4 separate regions of the Homo sapiens genome follow, and regions 1, 2 and 4 are each linked to region 3. The links are contacts of gene promoters, found by promoter capture Hi-C in blood cells and fetal thymus (Javierre and others, 2016). All regions are on one chromosome and are shown on one strand. The core of a region is centred on a gene start or on the middle of the fragment in contact, and the rest is flanking DNA. Distances in the headings are between cores, read along the strand shown. Region 1 holds the start of NLRC4 (NLR family CARD domain containing 4). Region 2 overlaps BIRC6 (baculoviral IAP repeat containing 6). Region 3 holds the start of TTC27 (tetratricopeptide repeat domain 27). Region 4 overlaps YIPF4 (Yip1 domain family member 4).

Region 1 (3,215 bases), core at 322-2,821, 360 kb after region 3:
CATGGTGGTGGCCCACACCTGAAATCCCAGCTACTTGAGAGGCTGAGGCACAAGAATTGCTTGAGCCTGGGAGGCAGAGGTTGCAGTGAGCCAAGATTGAGCCACTGCACTCCACTCCAGCCTGGGCAACAGAACGAGACTCTGTCTCAAATAAATAAATAAATAAATAAATAAACAAATAAAATAAAAAATAAATAAGTTGATAAATAAAATTAGAATATACAGATAAGCCAAAGACAGAAATTTAAAATTGCTTATAATTGTATTCCCCAGCAATAAGCATCATTACTATTTTGGTGGCTGTCTTTGCAGTTTTTTCTCTTGAACATATGTTTATATATAGGTTTCATTACAATTTAAAAATCTAGCTGATAGTGTAGCCCTCAATCTCACTTCAGAGAAACCCACCTCACAAGTTGGGAAACACTGACACTGATGCCCCCTTAGAAAACCCAGGATGTAGACATTTATTTGCCGGGAAACTTTGGTATCCCTCTATGGCAGATAGGCTACTGTCAGAATGCTCTTTTTGAAATAAGAAGTTATGTAACACAAAGACATGTTCCTGGTAGTTTATGCAAAGACAGAGGAAAGAGTATGCAAGAATGTCATCCTCAAGGGAAGTGCAGAGAGATTTCTTCAGTCCTCAGCTGAGTATAAGCTGGCCTCCTGGAGTCTGTGAACACAAACGTCCAATGTGAGTGTGCCTGTGCAAGCCCCTGGCTGTTTATACTCCGGAGGGTGTCCCCGTGCGTCATCGGTGGAGTGGACCAAAACTGGTGATCTGTTTGCCCTGTGTGACCTTGCCCAGAACCCTGCTGACTGAGAGAACACATCTGCTGGAAGTCCTCTGGGATTCAAGGTACAGGGGTAAGCATGACCTTGAATGCAGTAGCAATGTGCTTTAGCCAACTAAGCTGGCTCATTTCATTTACCGCTCTATCTCCCATGGTTAAGCATTAAAAATACATGTTGTGGCTGGGCATGGTGGCTCACGCCTGTAATCCCAGCACTTTGGGAGGCTGAGGCTGGCAGATTGCCTGAGGTCAGGAGTTCGAGACCAGCCTGGCCAACATGGTGAAATTCTGTCTCTACTAAAAATACAAAAATTAGCCGGGCATGGTGGTGCACGCCTGTAGTCTTAGCTACTGGGAGGACTGAGGCGGGAGGAACGCTTGAACCCGGGAGGCAGAGGTTGCAGTGAGCTGAGATTGTGCCACTGCCCTCCAGCTTGGGTGACAGAACAAGACTCTGTCTCAAAAAAAAGAAAAAAGAAAGAAAAAGAAAAAAAATATATGTTGGATGTTCAGAAGACTTTGTTTCATTTTAAGGTATAGAATAAGTAACTCAACAGCAATGAATTCATATGTTGTGAACAAACAGGAAACAAATGAGTAATTCCTTTCTTGACGGAATTTCTAGCTCTTGCATCTTTTACTCTGAAGTTCTACTTCTTCCCCGGCTACTCCTGCCTACACCCATCTTCCCTTTCTGAACTGGTAGTACTTGTGTCCAAACCACTCTTACTGTGCTTTGAAAAAAAAAAAAGGAACTGCTCAGCAGTTCCCCTCTCTGTACACTGTCCTCTCACAGAACAAGAAGGTATCTGGTCTACAAGAACTCGAGGCCTCACTGAAACGGAAAGCAAATACAAAGAAACTTTATTTTAAAAACATGTCTTGGTCTCCCAAGAAGAGGGCAATTGGATTGCTCAGCCAGGTACTGTGGGTAGAGAGAATGGGATTTTTAAGGTCTGGGGCCCAAATATTAAAATCTGGGTTTACATTCATTTAAAGCTTGTGTCTGGGATGTACAAAAGCCTTAACATTGACGAGTGTGATTTGCATGCCTGGCTGGATTTGCCTGCCGAGAAACCTTTAGGGGTGGTTAATCGGGTCTGCTGGGGCTTCATCAGGTTCAAGGGGTACATGTACCCCTTGGACTACTGTGAGATGGAAAGGACTTTGGAAACACTTTTTGGCATTACAGAAAGGAAACTCACTCTTTTTTTTTTTTTTTTTTTGAGACAGAGTCTTGCTCTGTCACCCAGGCTGGACTGCAGTGGCGTGATCTCGGCTCACTGCAACCTCTGCCTCCTGGGTTCAAGCAATTCTCCTGCCTCAGCCTCCCAAGTAGCTGGGATTACAGGCACCCGGCACCGCGCCCCAGCTAATTTTTGTATTTTTAGTAGAGACAGGGTTTCACCATGTTGGCCAGACTGGTCTCAACTCCTGACCTCGTGATCTGCCCACCTCAGCCTCCCAAAGTGCTGGGATTACAGGTGTGAGCCAACGTGCCCGGCCAGGAAACTCACTCTTGTTGCTAAGACTGTTGTTAGAATCACAGATGATCAAAGCTGAAAGGAACGAGGTGGACTACTTAGTCCATCCAATCTCCCAAGTTACTGATGAGAAACCTGATATTTGGAGACAGAAGTGAAGGAAATCACCCTTTACGGGACACCTATTTCGTGATAGGGTCTTTATGTACATTATCTCAGTAGATCCTTGCAGCCTGGCTTTGAGAGGTGGAAAATGTGGTAGAGAGGAGTTAAATGTCCTGCCCTACATCACACTGCTAATTGTCTACAAAACTAGGATAGAACCTGGTCAGCACACTTCTTAACTGTTCACACACTTTTATAATATTAGTCGTATTAATGTGTTTAAAATACCATAGACTGGGTGGCTTAAACAACAGAAATTTATATTCCCACAGTTCTGGAGGCTGCAAGTCCAAGACCAAGGTGTCAGCAGGGTTGGCTTCTCCCCACGCCTCCCTCCTTGGCCTTTTCTCTCTGTATGCACATTCCTGGTATCTCCCTTTGTGTGTCCCGATTTCCTCTTCTCATAACAGCCTCATTTGAGCTTAATGACCTCTTTAAAGGCTCTGTCTGCAAATACAGTCACATTCTGAGGTTCAGGGCTTCAACATATGGATTTGGGGGAAGCCCAGTTCAGCACATAACACTAATATTAACATGTGAGATTGCTGAAGCCTATTAAAGACCTAAGAACATTCTAGTCTAGAGCCTTTTTACTAGAAAGGAAGACAGATAATACCCACTGACCATCTTTGTCACAACTACTTTCATGTTTAATCTTCACAATAGTCCAGGGAGGTGAATATTATGCATGATTTGGAAAGCAAGATTCGGAAAGGCTAAGTAACATGTCTAGGGATACTTACCTCATAAGGTGCAGAGTGAGGATTTG
Region 2 (2,997 bases), core at 191-2,690, 260 kb after region 3:
TTTTTTTTTCCTGCAGAAATAGAAAAAAGTTACTGGGATTTTGATAGGAATTGCAATGAGTCTGCAAATTGCAATGAGTCTGCAAATTGTTTGGGGCAGTATAGATATCTTAACAATATAAAGATAGTATGAAGTTCTGGCAAGGATGCAGAACAACTGGAACTCTCATACATTTCTAAAGGAAATACAAATGGTACAGCCACACTGGTTTGACAGTTTCTTACAAAGTTAAACACAAACTTACCAAATGGCCCTGTAATCCCACTTCTGTGTATTTACCCTGGAGACATAAAAGCTTATGTTCACACAAAAATCTATACTCAGAAGTTTATAGTCGCTCTATTTATAATCATCAAACATTGAAAACACCCAAATGTTTTTTTTTCTTTCTCTTTGTCTTTTTTTGAGACAAGGTCTCACTATGTCACTCAGGCTGGAATATAGTGGCGAAATCACTGCTCACCACAGCTTTGACCTCCAGGGCTCAGGTAATCCTCCCATCTTAGCCTCCCAAGTAGCTGGGACTACAGGCGCACACCATGATGTCTGGCTAATTTTTAGTATTTTTTGTAGATACAAAGTTTTGCCATGTTGCCCAACCTGGTCTCAAGTGATGTGCCCACCTCAGCCTCCCTAAGTGCTGGGATTACAGAATAAGCCACCACACCCAGCCCCAAACATATTTCAAAGAGTGACTGGCAAAACAAATAATGATGCATCAATACGATGGAATACTATTCAGTAATAAAAAAGGAATGAAATATTAATACATGCAAAAACTTGACAGAATCTCAAGGGCATCATGCTAAGTGCAAGCAGCTAGCATCAACAGGTTACATACTGAATGATTACATTTCAGTAACAATGTAGAAAACACAAAACTCCATAGTATGGAGAACAGATCAGTGGTCCCAAAAGATTAGTGGTAAAGGGAAGATGTGACTACAAAGTGATACCACAGGGAATTTTTTCAGGTGTTGAAACTGGTCTGTATCCTGACTGTGATGGTGGGTTACATCAATCTATGCATGTGTGTACCTGTATGACAAGTACACAAAAAATAGACAACTTTACTTTATATTCTATAAAAAATAAAAATTTTTAAATGATATTGTAAAGGAAAAAACACACCCAAGCGCAATGCCTTCACACCTGTAATCCCAGCACTTCAAGAGGCCGAGGCGGGCGGATCACTTGAGGTCAGGAGTTCGAGACCAGCCTGGCCAACCTGGTGAAACCCTGTCTCTACTAAAAATACAAAAATAACTGGGCACGGTGGCAGGCACCTGTAATCCCAGCTACTCAGGAGGCTGAGGCAGAAGAATCACTGGAACCAGGGAGGTGGAGGTTGCAGTGAGCCGAGATCGCGCCATTGCACTCTAGCCTGGGTGACGGAGTGAGACTCTGTCTCAAAACACAAACAAACAAAAAAAGAATAAACATGTACACATGGAGCAATAGCCTATTAACTATGCTATTAACTAAGGAGGGGGTAGTTCATAACACATCACTATGATCCAAATTCTATAAAAATATATTAAACAATAGAAGAGGCCAGGCATGGTAGCTCATGCCTGTAATCCCAGCACTTTGGGAGGCCGAGGCGGGCGGATTGCCTGAGCTCAGGAGTTTGAGAGCAGCCTGGGTAACACAGTGAAACCCCTGTATTTTGTCTCTACTAAAATACAAAAAATTAGCCGGGCATGGCGGCATGAACCTGTAGTCCCAGCTGCTCGGAAGGCTGAGGCAGGAGACTCACTTAAACCCAGAAGGCAGAGGTTGCAGTGAGCTGAGATTGCACCGCTGCTCTCCAGCCTGGGCAACAGAGCGAGACTCTGTCTCCAAAAAAAAATAATACTAATAGAAGAAAGTAAAAAGAAATGCCAAAATGTTAACAATGCCCATCTCTAGGTAATGAAATTATACGTACTTACTTTTTCCTTAGTCTGTCTAACATCCTATAAGGTATGTCCCTTTTAAAACTGAAAATTTCCTTTTTTTTTTTTTTTTTTTTTTTTTGAGACAGGGTCTCACTCTGTTGCCCAGGCTGGAGTGGTGCAATGGCGCAATCTCAACTCACTGCAACCTCTGCCTCCCAGGCTCAAGCAATCCTCCCGCCTCAGCCTCCCAAGTAGCTGAGACTACAGGTGTGTGACAGCACGCCCGGCTAATTTCTGTATTTTTTGTAGAGACAGGGTTTTGCCATGTTGCCCAGGATGGCAAAATTGAAAATTTCAAAGGAAAGAAATTTTAATTAGTTACCAATTCTAATACTTTAAGAAATAATGTACAACCCTAAAAAACTTGCAAAAATGTTACAAGAAATACATTATCTTTTCAAACTGACAATACACTGTAAAACTCCATTTCCACTGACATCTCATCAGACTTCAACGCTATTTTAAAATAGCCTATTAAAAGGTACTATATGCAAAGATCATTCAAAGTCAATAAAGAAGATACAAGCCTGTATCAGAACATCTCCTGTAACCCAAAAATATATACACCTACTATGTACCCACAAGAATTTTTAAAATTTTTTAAAAAGAAGGTACAAAATTAATGTAAGGTTCTCACAAAGCTTTTGATATAATTAACCAAAAATGAAATCATTTAATAAGAGAAAAAATGTTAGTAACACTATAGTATTAAAAGCCAAAATGAGTATTCCTATGAAGCAGAACTCACTGCAAAACAAGTTTGGGAAAGGTCAGTGACTGCACCACAAAGAAAGGGGTAACACATGATAAAATACAACATAAAACACAATGCAGGGACAGTGTTGTTTCAGGCAAGAGAACCAACATCTACTTAAGCACAGAAGAGGTTCTCCAAAAGATACAAAATTACTGGAATTAAGAGTTCCAAGTTATGATTCTCTTCATTCACATTAACCAAAAGTGTCATCAGACCACTTACTTTGCTATAATCTTTAGTATCTGACATCATTTGTTTTGAAAATATAATCACCACGAAAAATTTATCATGGAGAGGGCT
Region 3 (3,024 bases), core at 414-2,913:
AATCCCAGCACTTTGGGAGGCCGAGGTGGGTGGATCACGACGTCAGGAGATCGAGACCATCCTGGCTAACACGGTGAAACCCCGTCTCTACTAAAAATACAAAAAAAAAAATTAGCTGGTCGTGGTGGCAGGCGCCTTTAGTCCCAGCTACTCGGGAGGCTGAGGCAGGAGAATGGCGTGAACCCGGGAGGTGGAGCTTGCAGTGAGCCGAGATCGCGCCACTGCACTCCAGCCTAGGCGACAGAGCGAGACTCTGTCTCAAAAAAATAAAAAAAATAAATCATTGCCGCCTAGGCCGTGCATGGTGGCTCATGGCTGTAATCCCAGCACTTTGGGAGGCCGAGGCGGGTGGATCACCTGAGGTCAGGAGTTCCAGACCAGCCTGACCAACATGATGAAAGCCGTCTCTACTAAAAACACAAAATTAGCCGGGCATGGTGGTGCATGCCTGTAGTCCCAGCTACTTTGGAGGCTGAAGCAGGAGAATCGCTTGAACCGGGGAAGCGGAGGTTGCAGTGAGCCGAGATGGCACCAGTGCACTCCAGCCAGAGCAACAAGAGGGAGACTCCATCCCCCCAAAAAAACAACTTTGCTGCCTCATTTTAGCTCCTCTGCTTACCAACAGTGTGACCTTAAATAAATTACTTAACCAGACCCGGGCGCGGTGGCTCAGGCCTGTAATCCCAGCACTTTGGGAGGCTGAGGCAGGCGAATCATCTGAGGTCAGGAGTTCCAGACCAGCTAGGCCAACATGGTGAAACCTCGACTCTACTAAAAATACAAAATTAGCCGGGCGTGGTGGCGCATGCCTGTAATCCCAGCTACCCTGGAGGCTGAGGCAGGAGAATCACTTGAACCCGGGAGGCGGAGGTTGCAGCGAGCCGAGATCGCGCCATTGCACTCCAGCCTGGGCAAAAAGCAAAACTCCGTCTCAATAAATAAATAAATAAATAAATAAATAAATAAATAAATAGATAAAATAAAATTACTTAACCCAACTGTATTTACAGATCTTCACCGCAAAATGGGATTAAAAATTGAATCTACCTTAAGTATCTACTATAAGCATTAAATGACTGAGTACATGTTAAGGGCTTAGAAAAATAACTGACATTGCCATTGTCATTATTACTGAACCTGGGCGGTAAGAAGTTTTGCGCAAAGAAAGTGAGGACCACGCCCACCATGTCAAAGACTAAACGACCCAAAGCCTCAAGGAATCAGCTAGACTGTGTTAGGGAAAAATGAAGGGAGGGATGAGAATCAGTCGCTGCCATCCCTTTTCCTCACAGTTCCCACGATAGCCTAAGGCCCGGTAGGTGCGCCTCTCACCTGAACCGACGACCCCCTCCTGTTTCCATTGCTGCCGCTCAGCCTCAGTGGGGAATCCCCTCAGAATTGCCAGCTCCGGGGTCCACATCACCCCAGACACCGCTGCAGCCAAAACAGGCTCCCACGAGGGCCACACGGGAGTCAACAAAAGAAAGTGAAAACAGGAGAGTCCAAAGGCGCTGAAATCTAGTGGCGACAGTTACCGTAAATACACCTGCGGCCCTAGAATTCCATGTGCGGATACTACCTCAAGGAGGCGGCCATAACAGCAGCGCGGGGCACCCTGGGAAAAACACGCACGCTCTCTGGTCTGGCTTCCGCCTAGGAGAAGAACCCGAGCTTGAGTAAGGAGCCTGTTGGGTGGTTATGCCCCACCCCGGGGCGGGCAATAGGGGGAGTTGAGGGCGCGGTCGCGCTCAGCCCCGCCCCCAGTGGGACCGCTTCCAAGAACTGTGAACGTGGAAGTGAGTGTGCCTCCCACCGAGGGCTAGGGTTCAAATGCAACTCAAAACGGACGTCTTGGCCAAAGCAGTTTGATTAGAAGGGCTAGAGTTGTGATTCTTAAAGCATTTTGGGTTAGAACGCTCTCGACAACCCGATGAAAACCACAGTCCTTCGCGCAGAGTGCAGGTGGGCCCTTGCTCTCAGCCTAAGGGTACCCTCTCAGGGAATCACAGACCCTCTGACGTGGAGTCGGTGAAGCCCAGGTTGGAACCCCGTCAGCATAGCATGGGTCTTTCGGCGAATGAGCGTGTAAGGAAAGGATCTGGTTTTGACACTGCTCTACATGAATCATGGCCGGGTGGGAAATCTGCCCCTGCCGCTGGTGCAGGGAAGTTTTTGGAACACTGTCGGAACGCTGTAGAAGAGTGATCCCAGGGGTGATCACAAAGAAATTGCAAGGAGACAAACCAGCCTCCGCTGGTACCTTATTTGCACTTCTTTGAATCTTCCTAGCAGCACTCCAAAGAAACAGTTAGAGGGCGGGCGCGGTAGCTCACGCCTGTAATCTCAGCACTTTGGGAGGATGAAGCGGATGGATCACCTGAGGTCAGGAGTTCGAGACCAGCCTGGCCAATATGGTGAAACCCGTCTCTACTAAAAATACAAAAATTAGCCGGACGTAGTGGGGCACCCCTGTAAACCCAGCTACTCGGGACGGTGAGGCGGGGGAATTGCTTGAACCCGGGAGGCGGAGGTTTCAGTGAGCTGAGATGGTGCCACTGCACTCCAGCCTGGGCAATAGGAAAGAGGGAGGGAGGGAGGGAAGAAGGAAGGAAGGGAGGGAGGGAGGGAAGGAGGGAAGGAAAACAGGACTATGGCTTTGTCCCATTGGCTTGACACCTGTACTGAGATATGTCATGTAAGAGCCAGGAGAAAACTGCAGGGTAACTCTGACCACAAGAGCAAAAGCTCTCTGAAAAGAGGCTGACCCGGTACCCAGCTCCAAGGAAGAAGCTAAATAAATGTTAATTCACTTTCTTACTCAGTAAAGAGCCACTCCAGAATGTGAAGGGAGAGGAACTCAGCTCAGCTCATTTCAGCCATTGCCATCAGATACCAAAGGAAGCCGGACCTGACTGTGATTGGAGAAGAGCGGATGCCCTAAAATGTCCTCCCACTGAGAAGTAATTAAAAACTGTTTTTCAGGCCGGGCGCAGTGGCTCACGCCTGTAATCTCAGCACTTTGGG
Region 4 (3,259 bases), core at 425-2,924, 340 kb after region 3:
GTCTTATGTACCCTTTACCCAGTTTTTCCCAATAGTACAAACTCACATAACTATCAAATTCAGGACACTGACACTGGTACAATCCACAGACCTTATTCAGATTTCACCAGTTTGACATGCACTCATTTGTGTGTGTGTATATGTGTTTATAGTTCTATGCAATTTAATCACATTTGTAGATTTGTGTAATGCCTTATGAGTTTTAAAACTCATGCAAATAAGTAGATTAATTAATGAAAAAAGTAAACCTTGTTTAACTCCCCTAAGAAAGGTTGGCTAAAATGTCATTTTCAGTTTTCAAAAAGGAAATAAAAGTTATTCTTGCACCCATTACATACTATATATCATACTTCACCAGCATATTGTATAGAAAACATTTGTGATAAGACTAGACCTATATGGATATTATTTTTCATAAGTAGGAATCATAGACTTCGAGACCAACCTGGCCAAGACAGTGAAACCCCATCTCTACCAAAAATACAAAAATTAGCCGGGTGCGGTGGCGAGCACCTGTAATCCCAGCTACTTGGGAGGCTGAGGCAGGAGAATTGCTTGAGCCTGGGAGGTGGAGGTTGCAATGAGCTGAGATCGCACCACTGCACTCTAGCCTGGGTGACACAGCAAGACTCCGTCTCCAAAAAAAAAAAAAAAAGGAAAAACTAAAGATTCCTCTGTCTACATTACTAACTTGTATTAGAGGTGACATCCTTTCTGGGAAGGGGGAATTTCAAACAAAGAATAGGCTGAAATGGTCACAATAACAGAGTGACAGAAAAGTATCACTCAAAAGAACACTGATAGTAATTATCTACAATTTACTGATCACTGTATTGTGAGCTGCAGGTATTATAATTTTTATATAGGGATAAAAAGACTGAAGAAGGCCAAGGTTGAAATGCAATATATTGAGTCCAGTCCTCTTCACTAGATTTATATAACCTATTGTCAACATTTCCTTGCATCTATCTCAAAGGCATCTAAAATTCAATATTCCAAAACTGATATATCTCAGGTCTTCCTCCATTTTTTTCATTAAATGATACTACTAATCTATCCAGCATTGTAAGCTAGAAGCTTATCCTTGACAGTTTGCTTTATTTGCATGCTTCCTCTCCATCCAAACCACCACTAAATTGTCAGTTTTACCTCTAAATATTTTTAAATGTCTGTCCACTTACCATTTCTACCACCAGTAGCAAGCTCATGCAAACCATCAACTCCTGTCTGCATGATTATAATGGTGTACAAACTGCCCTCCCCCCAGTCATTCTTGTCTCCTTCCAATCCATACTCTTCACTGTACCCCGGAGACTCTTTCTAAGATGCAAATATTTCACTCTTTTGTTTAGAATCCTTCATCTCCCTCCCCCAGTTGCTTTTCTAGCTCAAGTCCAATAATCTCTACATGCCCTATCTTATCCAGGCCCACTTACCTGCTCTCCTCTCAATCTGGACTCTATACCCTAGCCACACTAAGCCTCTCATTTCTCTGAATGAACCTGGATTCTGTTTGTCTCAGGGACCTTGTGCCAGGCTGTTTCCTCCAACTTCAGATAATTAAATGCCATCCATTCTTCAGTTCTCAGATATACTTGCTGTATTAGTCCATTCTTGCATTGCTCTAAAGAACTACCTGAGACTGAGTAATTTATAAACAAAAGAGGTTTGACTCACAGTTCCACAGGCTCTACAGGAAGCATGGCTGGGTATGCCTTAGGAAACTTACAATCACGGCAGATTGCAAAGGGGAAGCAGGCAGTTTTACATGGCCAGAGGAGGGAGAGACAGACAGTGGAGGTGCTACACCCTTTTAAAAAACCAGACCTTGTGAGAACTCACTATGACAAGAACAGCAAGAGGGAAGTCCACCCCCATGATCCAGTCACCTCCCACCAGGCCTCTCCTCCAACACTGAAGATTACAATTCAACATGAGATTTGGGCAGGGACACAAATCCAAACCATTACACTCGCTTAAGCAAATTTTCCTTGATCCTGCAGACTAGACTATGTAAGTTCCTTTCACAGTTCCCTCCACTTTTCCTTCACGATATTTATCACTATATATAATTATATATTTGTGTAATTACTTGGTTGTTTATAAAATCTATGAAAGGAGAGACTATTTGGGATTTTTGGTGGCATTTGTCTTGGTACATATATCCCCAGTACTTATAATAGTGCCTGATCCATAGTAGGCAATCAACAAATGTGCATGCTTATTGAATGAATTAATTGATGGAAGGGCAAACAATACCATAAAGCTTAAATTAAGAAGTGATATTAGGCCTGGCGTGGTGACTCATGCCTGTAATCAATCCCAGCACTTTGGGAGGCAGAGGTGGGCGGATCACTTGAGGTCAGGAGTTTGAGACCAGCCTGACCAACGTGGTAAAACCCCGTCTCTATTAAAAAAATACAAAAATTAGCCGAGCATGGTGGCAGGCACCTGTAATCCCAGCTACTTGGGAGGCTGAGGCAGGAGAATTGCTTGAACCTGGGAGGCAGAGGTTGCAATGAGCCAAGATTGCGCCATTGCACTCCAGCCCGGGCAACACAGCGAGACTCTTGTCTCAAAAAAAAAAAAAGACATGAGATAAATGAAAGCAAAAATAATTTATTCAACAAATAATTCTTTTGTGATATTTATACCATGGGTTCTATGATAGGTACTGGGGTATAGAAAATATTAGGAAGTTTCCGTTTCTGAGGGACAGTTAAAGCAAGTTTTACCAAGGAAAGAGCATTTGAGTTCAGTCTTAGGTTTTAACTTAAGGCGAGGAGGAGAAAGACATTCTAAGCATGATGATCAGAATCTGCATCCACATGGAGACAAAACACCAAAGCACATTTTAGAATAAAGGGTATGTGTGGAGAAATAGTAAGGATAGCTATCATTAAGAATGAGGGATTTGGACAGAATCTAGAAGGAAGGTTATACACTGAAAACATCTGTAAGTTGAAAATATTCATGGTTAAAAAACACTATAAAAAGGGGAGAAGCAAGAATTTATATGACGTGTAGAAACCAGGGAAAAGACCCGGAGTTGTACAGTAAAATGTTCATGTTGGAAAACAATAAAAAAAAAGTGTGGGGTCAGTTAACACTGAAACCCAAGCAGCAACATCATTACTCACATATGTTGAACACTTAACTCTGCCAGATATAGTAGTAAATGTTTTACATTTACAAAGTATTTGAGCACTTGGGTATTCCTTTTTTTTTTTTTTTTTTGAGACAGTCTCACTCTGTCGCC

The links. Contacts are between HindIII fragments. The CHiCAGO score rates a contact against its expected background, and 5 or more counts as called.
Region 1: a contact is called between the fragment with the promoter of NLRC4 here and the fragment with the promoter of TTC27 in region 3, in 1 of 17 cell types (monocytes). The highest score is 5.3, in monocytes.
Region 2: a fragment that was not itself captured here is called in contact with the fragment with the promoter of TTC27 in region 3 in 2 of 17 cell types (non-activated CD4 T cells and total CD8 T cells); the score reaches 5.8 in non-activated CD4 T cells.
Region 4: a contact is called between a fragment that was not itself captured here and the fragment with the promoter of TTC27 in region 3, in 3 of 17 cell types (total CD8 T cells, naive CD8 T cells and fetal thymus). The highest score is 5.7, in total CD8 T cells.

Annotation. Positions count from the first base shown.
Region 1 is chr2:32,263,242-32,266,456 of GRCh38, reverse strand. It overlaps NLRC4 (NLR family CARD domain containing 4), which reads left to right and starts at 1,571. Exons shown (of 9, transcript NM_001199138.2): 1 at 1,571-1,719. The HindIII fragment of the contact is 10,627 bases long and covers 1-1,798 here.
Region 2 is chr2:32,370,238-32,373,234 of GRCh38, reverse strand. All of the region lies in intron 1 of BIRC6 (baculoviral IAP repeat containing 6), which reads right to left. Among named protein-coding and RNA genes, the nearest start is that of BIRC6, 15 kb to the right of the region's middle. The HindIII fragment of the contact is 2,286 bases long and covers 298-2,583 here.
Region 3 is chr2:32,626,689-32,629,712 of GRCh38, reverse strand. TTC27 (tetratricopeptide repeat domain 27) reads right to left here and starts at 1,663. Exons shown (of 20, transcript NM_017735.5): 1 at 1,333-1,663. The coding sequence starts at 1,420. LOC124905985 (a long non-coding RNA gene) reads left to right here and starts at 2,935. Exons shown (of 3, transcript XR_007086273.1): 1 at 2,935-3,024. RefSeq lists a silencer at 1,174-1,303 and enhancers at 1,554-1,613, 1,142-1,801, 2,024-2,083, 1,802-2,463. The HindIII fragment of the contact is 6,273 bases long and covers 1-3,024 here.
Region 4 is chr2:32,283,053-32,286,311 of GRCh38, reverse strand. All of the region lies in intron 1 of YIPF4 (Yip1 domain family member 4), which reads right to left. Among named protein-coding and RNA genes, the nearest start is that of YIPF4, 6.8 kb to the right of the region's middle. The HindIII fragment of the contact is 1,189 bases long and covers 1,080-2,268 here.